Linked DNA regions of Homo sapiens: regions 2 and 3 are each linked to region 1. Evidence: promoter capture Hi-C in 16 types of primary human blood cells and fetal thymus (Javierre and others, 2016). All regions are on one chromosome and are shown on one strand. Each heading gives the region's core, a stretch centred on a gene start or on the middle of the fragment in contact. The rest is flanking DNA. Distances are from core to core; before and after follow the strand shown.

Region 1 (3,144 bases), core at 84-2,583:
CACACACGTGTGTGGGTGTCATGGGGGGGGTGACAACAACACAGGCAGACAGGCATAGCACGGAGGCATACCAGGGAGACAGGCACAGAGGCAGGGGCCTCTGACTGCCTCGCCCTGGATGGAAGGGTTGGGGCTAGGGGACAACTCCCTGGCACATCTAGGTGGCAGCCTCCCCCTCTACCCCAGGCCTTGTGCCTTCCCAGAGCTCAGGAGTGCCAGGAACGCTAGTTGCCCACTGGGCAAACACCTGCCTCACCCCGCCCTGGCCAGGCCCCCGTGCCTTTTCCCCATGGCCCGGCAGGGTGTGACCAGGGAACCCTCCAGCTGGCGCCAGTGCCCACAGTGGGTTCAGGGTCACCCCGGGCCAGCCACTCCCAATGACTCAGATGAGTCTACCAGGAAAGGTACAGACCCATCTCCAGCTAGGCCCCCCTCCCCGGCCCCGGCGCCACAGCCCCCAAGGAGCTTGGCCAGCAGCCTGCACAGGCCAAGGGTTGGAGATCGGTTCCTGAGTCCAGGCTGCAGTGGTCTTGTACCCAGGGAGCTGGGGGTGTGTGTGTTGGTGGGGGGAAGGTCTGCAAGTGTGCGATACCTACAGATCTGTGTGTTTTGCAGTGCCAATGCGGTCGGGGTGGTCTGCAGCGCTCCCTGGGTCTCTCCATGAGTTGTGTGTCTCAATGCATCCGAGAGGAAGGAGAAACAGAGCCCGTGTATCAGTGGGTGACATGCATGAGGGTCTGTGTGTGTCCTGCGTCAGGTGTGGCCTGTAAGCAAGGAAATCTGTAAGGGACTCTAGGCGGTGCACTGGGTACATGCGTCTGCGGTCGATACCTGAGCACAAGTTGGTATGTGTGTGCATGTGTCGGGGTCTGTGAGAGGGAGAGAGCGTGTGTGAGAATTGGAGTGAGGGTGAGGTGTGCAGGCGAGTGTGCGGGCCGCGGGGGTCCGGTGGTACGCGTCAGGGCCACTGCAGGGAGTCTGCGAGGGAAGCCCGTGGGGGTGCGGGTCCCTGCGGGAAAGTCTGCGGGTGCGGGGGTCTCGGCGCGATATCCCTAGGCCCGCCCCCGCTCCGTGCCGCCCCGCCACTCACCCCAGCTCAGGAACTGCGCCACGCTGCGCTCCCGCCGTAGGGGGCCGCTGCTGAGCTCGTGGTGCAGCGCCAGCAGCAGATCTAGGAGGCCGTCGAGCCCCGGGCAGCCGCCGGCCTCGCCCCGCGCCAGCTGCTCCAGCGCGCGCAGCCGCCGCTCCATGGCTGCGGCCGGAGCCTCGCTGCTCGGCTACAGTCTGGCCGCCCGCATGCCCGCCTGTCGGGCCGTCCGTCCGCCCAACCGTCTGAGGCTCTGTCCGCGCGTCCTCCCCCGCCCCTCTCCCGCCCTCCCCGCTGTCACCTTCCTCCGCCGCCGCCAGCGCGCCCTCACCTGGGCGCCGCGCCCCGCCCCCCGACGGACGGGCAGGTGCGCGCCGGCCAATGGGAGCCGCGGCTAGAGGTGAAGGTGGGGGCGGAGGCGCGCGGGGGCGGGCCCAACTCCCGGCCAGGAAGTGCGGGGGCGGGCCGGGGAGAACAACTGACTTCTGCGCGGGGCGCGGTGGGGTTCTGCGGGGTCGGAAAGACTCCCCAGATCCCCGCGCGGCCCCAGACCCAGACTTACCTGGGCCCTCCCTGGGCCCTGACCCAGGAGGCGCGGAGCACTGCAACTTCTCTCGCCCCCTGGGTCGCAGCCGCCTTGCCCTTGGCTAAGAGAGAGGGGCTAGGGACGCCCGCGGCCCCGGAGCCGGATGGGAATTGTAGTTCGCTCTCTCCATGGTTTGCCCGCGCTTGGCACCCATCGCCCCCCCGCCCCCGCCCAAAAAAAAGTTTCTGAATCTTACTTTGATTGTATCATTAGAGTTGATGTGGGAGACAGGAAGTTGGGGTAGGGATGGTCACGCCCATTTGGCAGATGGACACACTGAGGCTTGGGAAGGAGGAAGGCGAATTGAGGGGCTGAGGACAAGGTGGCTCTTAAGTTAGACCCTGGGGTGGAGGTGGAGCTGGGCTGGTACCAACACCACAGGCGTTTTAAGCTTCAGTAGGAGCAGGGCCTGAGGTCTGACCTGGAACGTGAAGGGCAAGGAGAGGTCTGAGATAGGCTGGAGGAGGTTGGGGAGGGGAGGGGCTGGCTCTGTCCAGTGGTATTTCTGATTTCTGTCCAGCTGGGATGGACCAGGCACCATGAGGAGAGATCAAAGGGTGGGACATATTGGTGGCTTCAGACAACACTTTTTTTTTTTTTTTTTTGAGACAGGGTCTCTCTGTCACCCATGCTGGAGTGCAGTGATGCAATCATAACTCACTGCAGCCTTGACCTCTTAGGCTCCTGCCTCAGCCTCTTGAGTAGCTGGGATTACAGGCAGATGCCACCACACCCAGCTGATTTTTTATTTTACTTTTTGGAGTCAAGGGTTATTGTTATGTTGACCAGGCTGGTCTCGAACTCCTGGGCTCAGGTAATCCTCCCACCTTGGCCTCCCGGAGTTCTGGGATTACAGACATGGGCAACTACACCCGGCCTAGACAACACTTCTTTCTCTTTTTTGAGACAGGGTCTCACTCTGTCCCCTAGGCTGGAGTGCAGTGGTGCAATCGTAGCTCACCACAGCCTCAACCTCCTGGGTTCAAGTGATCCTCCCACCTCAGCCTCCCGAATAGCTGAGACTACAGGCTCACACCACTAGGCCAGGCTGATGTTTTGTTTTTTGAGATGGTGTCTCACGCTGTCACCCAGGCCAGAGTGCAGTGGCACGATCTCGGCTCACTGCAACCTCTGCCTCCCAGGTTCAAGAGAGTCTCCTGCCTCAGCCTCCCAAGTAGCTGGGATTATAGGCATGTGCCACCACACCCAGCTAATTTTTGTATTTTTAGTAGAGATAGGGTTTTGCCATGTTGGCCAGGCTGATCTCAAACTCCTGACTTCAGGTGATCCTTCTGCCTCGGCCTCCCAAAGTGCTGGGATTACATGCGTGAGTCACTGGGCCCAGCCATGTTTGTATTTTTTATAGAGATGGGGTTTCGCCATGTTGCCTAGGCTGATCTCAAACTCCTGGACTCAAGTGATCTGCCTGCCTCAGCCTCCCAAAGCGCTGGGATTACAGGCTGTAGCCACT
Region 2 (3,306 bases), core at 311-2,810, 290 kb after region 1:
CTCCTCGGACTGGGGGACTCGGCCCCGCGAGCAGCTGGGAAGGGGAGCCGCTTGCGGGCTGTACCACCTGGAGCGGGGAGTAGGCCAGGGACAGACTATACAAGCCTGAGGGGAATGAAATGTTTTCTTAAACATTTAGGGAGAGTCACAACAGTTTGACAAATACGGTGCTCTCTGAGAGAACTGGATGCGGAAAACAAAAATTTGTCTTCTCCATGATCACCCCCACAAGTTGTGTGGGAGTGAGTTGGGTCCCGTGGCTGCCACTGATTGGTTGCGATAAGTTACGCGGCCCAATAAGAAAAAGAATGTACCTTTGCTGGCCTATAGAAAGGGGAAAGCAGGTGAGTGGTTGTTAGGGGCGGACAGCTGCGTTGCCTAGGCCCTGGTCCCGCTCCAGTTGGCTGAGAGTAGGGAAAGCTCAGTCCTTGGGCGAGTGATCCCTGGCTGGCCTCCGGGAACGTTTGCCGCGCCAGGACAGGGAGGGACAACCAGGTGTACCCGAGACTGGGAGATTAATTCCTGCTAATCTTGGGACGGAAGTGTTCTGTTTGTTCAAAGGAATTGACTTCAGCGTCGCAGGCCTGCCCGCATCTCAGTGTCTGATTTTGCTGCCCATGTGTTGTTCAGCTCTGAGCCATAAGCAAGACCCCCACTGGTCCTGGGCTGCACTGTATTTTAGTTCGTGTCTGGGTCGCAGCCAACTAAGCCTGCTGATTAACAAAATGGAGCTAATGCATCCACTTTGTGCCTTGCGTTTTCCTCCGTCATCTCATTTAATCATCAATCACTAAGGTTTATGAGCTAGGGGGTGCTACCCCCTCCCCCGAAACGTGGGGCAATTGAAATTCAAAGGCTTACCAAAACCTGTCCTAGGATTGGCGCCAGGTCTGTCTGCCTCTAAATCTCTGTGCTGTTGGTCTCAGCCATCTTCCCTGCCACCTGTTGACTTGACAGTTTCAGCTTATAACCAGTCAGAGTTGGCTTCCCCGTAAGGCCACGTATAACTTTTTTTCCCCCTTTTCTTTTTATTTATTTATTTATTAATTTTTGCGACAGGGTCTTGCTCTGTCGCCCAGGCTGGAGTGCATTGGCGCCATCAGGGCTCATTGCAGCCTCGACCTCCCGGGCTCAAGCGATCCTCCCACCTCAGCCCCACAAGGTGTTGGGATTACAGGCGTGAGCCACAACACCTTGCCTATCTGTAACTTTCTAGTGACTGCATCCAATGGTTGGCTTTCAGCCCTTGCTTGACTCAACCTCTCTCCCCTTCTTGAAAGTCTCCTCCCTAAGCTTCTGTGATCCACATGCCTCTGCTCCTCTTTTCTCTCTGGCTATGCATGTGTCCTCTTCTCTTTACCTGATGTCCTTCTCTTTACTTTTCCTGCATGATTTCCTCTGCTCCAGTCCAGCCCCTGACCCAGGTGCTGATGATTTCCTTGTGTGGTCTCCAGCCGGGATCTATCCTGCTTTTAAAACAGTTCAGTGTCCCTAGACACTGTCTGCACCCCAGCTCCGGAAACGGGCATCATGCTCACTATCTGCCCCCACATCCAAACTGGTAATTAAGTCATTTATTCAGTTAGTCTACAAATATGGATCAAGTGTCTCCTGTTCTAGGGACTTAGGATGTCAGTGAACAAAATAAAGATCTCTACCTTTGTGGAGCTTATCCTAGTAGATGTGACAGCAAACCACAGACATAAGTGAAAAATCTAATACGCTGGAAGATGATCAGTGCTATAGGAAAAAAGTAGAACAGAATAAAGGGGATCAGGATGTGGTGGGGTACTTGAAGCTGGTTGCAGTATCAGCGAGGATAATCGGGTAAGCTTCCTTGAGAAGGTGACATTTGAGCAAAGACTTAAAGGAAGTGAGGTTATGAGCCAAGTGGATGTCTGGGTAAAGAGTTACAGCTCAATAAAGGTGGAGCAGTGCTGCTTTGTTGAAGGAGATGAGTGTGGCTATAGTGGAACTAGTGAAGGGTGCGTAGGAAAGAGGCCAGGGCAAGATCGCATTGGCCATCACAGGGACCTTGGCTTTTCCTCTGAGTGACGTGAGAAGTCATTGGAGGGTGCTGAGCAGAGGTGTGACATGCTCTGACTTAGGTGTAATAAAGTCACTCCAGGCTGGGTGTGGTGGCTGACCCTGTAATCCCAGCACTTTGGGATGCCAAGGCGGTTGGATCACGAGGTGAGGAGATCGAGACCATCGTGGCTAACACGGTGAAACCCCGTCTCTGATAAAAAAACACAAAAATTGGCCGAGCTTGGTGGCGGGCGTCTGTAGTCCCAGCTACTCCGGAGGCTGATGCAGGAGAATGGCGTGAACCTGGGAGGCGGAGCTTGCAGTGAGCTGAGATCGTGCCACTGCACTCCAGCCTGGGCAACAGAGCGAGACTCAGTCTCAAAAAAAACTAAAAAAAAAAAAAAAAAAGTCACTCCAGCTCCTGTGTTGGAATAATCTGTAGTGGGGAGGAAGGCAAGTGTGGGAGCAGGGAAACCAGTTAGGAGGCTCTTGCGGTGCAATAGGCAAGAGAGGACATCCTGTGGGTTCTACCTCCTGAGTGTCTCTAGAATTCATTCTTTCCTTGCCATTTTCACTGCCAGTGTCCTAGTCCAGACCATCATCATCTCATGCCTGGGAAAATGCAACAGTCCCCTTTCCTGTGCTTTCCTCCTCATCCGTTTTCCATAGAACGGCCAGAGAGATCTCCTGACACCTGAGCTCACGTCTTGCCTTCCCTCCCACACTCTGCCCTTCAGGCATAATGCCCAGTTGTGGGGTCTCAGGTGTACCATCCCTACCATGCCCCAGGCAGGCCCATCACCTTTTGCATATGTCTTTCCTTCTCCCAGGAACGTCTTTCTCCTCAAATATCACAAAAAGCATTGCCTACTTCCTCAGGCTGGGGTGGAGTGCATGCCATCATGGCAGGCTAATTAAAAAGAATTTTTTTTGTAGCTACAAGGTCTTGCTATCAGGCCCAGGCTGCTTTTGAACTCCTGGGCTCAAGCGATCCTCCTGACTTGGCCTCCCAAAGTATTGGGATTACAGGCATGAGCCACCATGCCTCGACAAAAAGCAGTTGTACTTCTAAGTACTAACAATAAGCAATCAGAAATTGAAAATTTCAAAATACTATTTACATAGCTTCAAAAAATCAAATGTTTGGCCAGTCACGGTGGCTCACGCCTGTAATCCCAGCACTTTGGGAGGCTGAGGCGGGCAGATCACTTGAGGTCAGGAGTTTGAGACCAGCCTGGCCAACACGGTGAAACCCCTTCTCTACTAAAAATACAAAAC
Region 3 (3,317 bases), core at 159-2,658, 340 kb after region 1:
CTGGGCTCCCCTGTCCCAGTGGCAGCATTGGTGGGGTACCCAGGCTACCCCTCTCCAAAAGAGCAGCATCTATATGTGGGGGTGTCTATAGGTGGGATCGGGGTCCCTGCTTGCTTCTCCTAGCAACTGTTGTATGTGCAAGTGGGAACGTCCAAGACCCTGAGTGCTGGGGGCTCATCTGATAGGGCGGGGGGACCTAGCCACTGACCACAGTGTGTGCCTCTTTCTGCAGATCTCCAGCGTTCTAGACATGGAGGCCATCACTTTCAAGAAGTTGGTGAAGGGCCATGCCTACTCTGTGACCGGGGCCAAGCAGGTACTGCCCTGGGTGGGGCCTTCCCTGAAGGGCGGTTCCTGCCCCCTGGCCTGTCCTTGCCTCTCTGGCACCTGACCAGGGCTGTGGAAGGTGCTGGCTCCTCCTTTCCCCTCCTGCAGCACCTTATCTCTCTTCTGGGGACACCCATCTGAGATGCCTATCATGTCCTGCCCTGACTGACTGTAGTTCATGTGTGCAGCTGCCTGCCTGGGCTGTGAATTCCAAGAGGACAGGCTTCATCTGGGTGCTGAGCAGGGCTTGGAGAGGATGAGGGTATGGGAGGCGGAGTGTTAAAGTGCGTGCATGGGCCAGGTGCACTGGCTCACACCTGTAATCCCAACACTTTGGGAGGCTGAGGTGGGCAGATCACCTGAGGTCAGGAGTTCGAGACCAGCCTGGCCAACATGGTGAAACTCTGTCTCTACTAAAAATACAAAAACTACCTGGGTGTGGTGGCAGGTGCCTGTAATTCCAGCTATTTGGGAGGCTGAGGCAAGAGAATTGAATTGCTTGAACCCAGGAGGCGGAGGTTGCAGTGAGCTGAGATCGCACCACTGCACTCCAGCCTGGGTGACAGAGCAAGACTCTGTCTCAAAAAAGAAAAAAAAAAAAAGTGCCTGCTGGAAGCTAGCACTGACAGGAGCTCTGGCAAATAGGTGAACTACCGAGGCCAGGTGGTGAGCCTGATCCGGATGCGGAACCCCTGGGGCGAGGTGGAGTGGACGGGAGCCTGGAGCGACAGGTGAGGGGCAGTGGGCACTGTCTGGAGTGCCTTGGGGAAACTGTTAGGTGCCCCGACATTTCTGCTCGGGACTCTACCAGGCCAGGCTGGACTCAGGATTGAGCAGAGGGGCCCATCTTCGCGCGACTGGGTCTGGGGGACTGCTCTGACAAAGCTCAGGCCGTGCGGGCCCCTGTGCCCAGCCGTCGGGTGTGTGCAGGGCATCAGACTGGCCCTGATGAGACCACCCCCTAGAAGCGGAACCTTGGCGCTTGACCTTGAGGAGGCCACCTGGGCTGGGCCGGGGGAAGACAGGCCAGGGTAGACAGGCCCCAGGGACAGAGGCCAGGCAGGTCAGTGCCCACCAGCCCTGGCAGAGCCCTGCTCCTCACAGCTCCTCAGAGTGGAACAACGTGGACCCATATGAACGGGACCAGCTCCGGGTCAAGATGGAGGACGGGGAGTTCTGGTGAGCGCCCCCTCCCCTTCTACCCCACCTCTCCACCCCTACACATCAGCTCTGTGCCCTGACGGGCTGTGCCTCACCTGTGTACCTCCCACCTCAGGATGTCATTCCGAGACTTCATGCGGGAGTTCACCCGCCTGGAGATCTGCAACCTCACACCCGACGCCCTCAAGAGCCGGACCATCCGCAAATGGAACACCACACTCTACGAAGGCACCTGGCGGCGGGGGAGCACCGCGGGGGGCTGCCGAAACTACCCAGGTGCACAGGGGCGGGCTCTGGGTCTTGCTGCTTCCTGGCTTAGGGGCTCCAGAAGGCACGTCATCTTACTGAGCCTCCGTTTCCTCACTTGCAAGATATAGGCTGATCTCTTGAATTTGCTTTGAGGAGTAAAATATTAAATGTCCTAGTAAATTTTAAAGAGGCATGCTTGACTCACCGTCTTGGGGCCTGAGCCCAGGGTGCTCATGAGGGGCAAAGATCTTGTGGCCATCCAGCCACCTGCCTGTCACTCCTTTCCTGGGCCCTTCCCTCCTGCCTTCGCTTTTTTTTTTCTGAGACAGAGTCTCACTCTGTTGCCCAGGCTGGAGTGCAGTAGCGTGGCCTTGGCTGACTACAACCTCCATCTCCCGGATTCAAGCAATTCTCCTGCCTTAGCCTCCCGAGTAGCTGGGATTACAGGCACCTACCATACCCAGCTAATTTTTGTATTTTTAGTAGAGGCAGGGTTTCTCCATGTTGGCCAGGCTGGTCTCGATCTCCTGACCTCAGGTGATCCGACCACCTTGGCCTCCCAAAGTGCTGGGATTACAGGCGTGCGCCACTGTGCCAGGTCCCTTCTTGCCTTCTCTTGCCACCTTTCCCTGGGCTTCTAGATCCATGTGGCTGATGTGGGCCACAGCCTGGCCTCTCAGTTCCTTGTCACTCTCACTGCAGCACGCTTTTTCTCTACCTTAGCTCAGCCCCCACCATGAGGGCACCAGAGCTGCCTTGTCTTGCAAACACCCGCTCTCTGACCTCCACCTTCGACTCTTTCCACTCCCTTAGTCTTCAACCCTTCGACCAAGCCAGTCCGTTGAACCCATCACTTGCGTACCATCCTGCCTCTCCCATCTTGCCTTCTCTCCTTACCTAGGTTAGAGCTATCATTTTAATCTTGTTCCTACAAACACTTTCAGTTCCCTGGCCCCTGTCTCCCATCATCTGGCACAAAACCCATCTCCACTGGCTTGGGAACCATTGAGTGTGGCAGGAGAGAAATCACATAACCGATGCCATATTTTCCCTGTAAATTCTTAGCCACAAATCTCAAATGAGCATTTTCCATAATCCCCAGCAATTCCACTACTGGTTAGTAACATTTCCACTCTCACCTCGATATCTCCCCACTGTTACTCTCACCTTCGGGCCTGGCCTTGCACTTCACTGAAAAGATAGACTTCATCCTGCAGGACACCTTGTGTTCCCACCTCCAAATCCCCCAGCCTTCTGCACCTGTGCCTGTGTCCTCATCGCCTCCCCACCTGCGACAGTGGCAGAACAGTCCCTGTTCATGGGGACCCCCACGTCTGCTCCAGATCCCATTCTCCCTCACCTCTGAAAGCATTTGCTCCTTCATCTGTCACCTCTCTCTCCAGTGTCATTACGGAGAGTCCTCTGTCTTAACACAAAGCAACCCTCTCGACCCCACTTCCCTGTTCATTTCTCCGCCCTCCTTCAAAGCACAATTTATCAGGAATTACCATACTCCCTATTTCCTTTCTCACTTCTGCTTCATTGCTTAACCCTTCCCAGTCCAGCTTCATCCCTACCAT

The links. The method cuts DNA at HindIII sites, captures the fragments that hold promoters and counts their contacts. A CHiCAGO score of 5 or more calls a contact.
Region 2: a contact is called between a fragment that was not itself captured here and the fragment with the promoter of CDC42BPG in region 1, in 2 of 17 cell types (M2 macrophages and M0 macrophages). The highest score is 6.8, in M2 macrophages.
Region 3: a contact is called between a fragment that was not itself captured here and the fragment with the promoter of CDC42BPG in region 1, in 2 of 17 cell types (M1 macrophages and M0 macrophages). The highest score is 5.6, in M1 macrophages.

The regions. Positions count from the first base shown.
Region 1 is chr11:64,843,320-64,846,463 of GRCh38, forward strand. It overlaps CDC42BPG (CDC42 binding protein kinase gamma), which reads right to left and starts at 1,334. Exons shown (of 37, transcript NM_017525.3): 1 at 1,091-1,334. The coding sequence starts at 1,250. RefSeq lists an enhancer at 1-809 and silencers at 1,024-1,073, 1,104-1,153, 1,164-1,513. The HindIII fragment of the contact is 2,728 bases long and covers 1-2,062 here.
Region 2 is chr11:65,134,804-65,138,109 of GRCh38, forward strand. No RefSeq gene overlaps it. Among named protein-coding and RNA genes, the nearest start is that of SYVN1, 1.9 kb to the left of the region's middle. RefSeq lists enhancers at 1-358, 1-226 and a silencer at 212-395. The HindIII fragment of the contact is 539 bases long and covers 1,292-1,830 here.
Region 3 is chr11:65,186,983-65,190,299 of GRCh38, forward strand. CAPN1 (calpain 1) reads left to right here. Exons shown (of 22, transcript NM_005186.4): 7 at 233-316; 8 at 973-1,058; 9 at 1,432-1,506; 10 at 1,604-1,764. Among named protein-coding and RNA genes, the nearest start is that of CAPN1, 6.7 kb to the left of the region's middle. RefSeq lists an enhancer at 1,256-1,802. The HindIII fragment of the contact is 3,882 bases long and covers 1-3,317 here.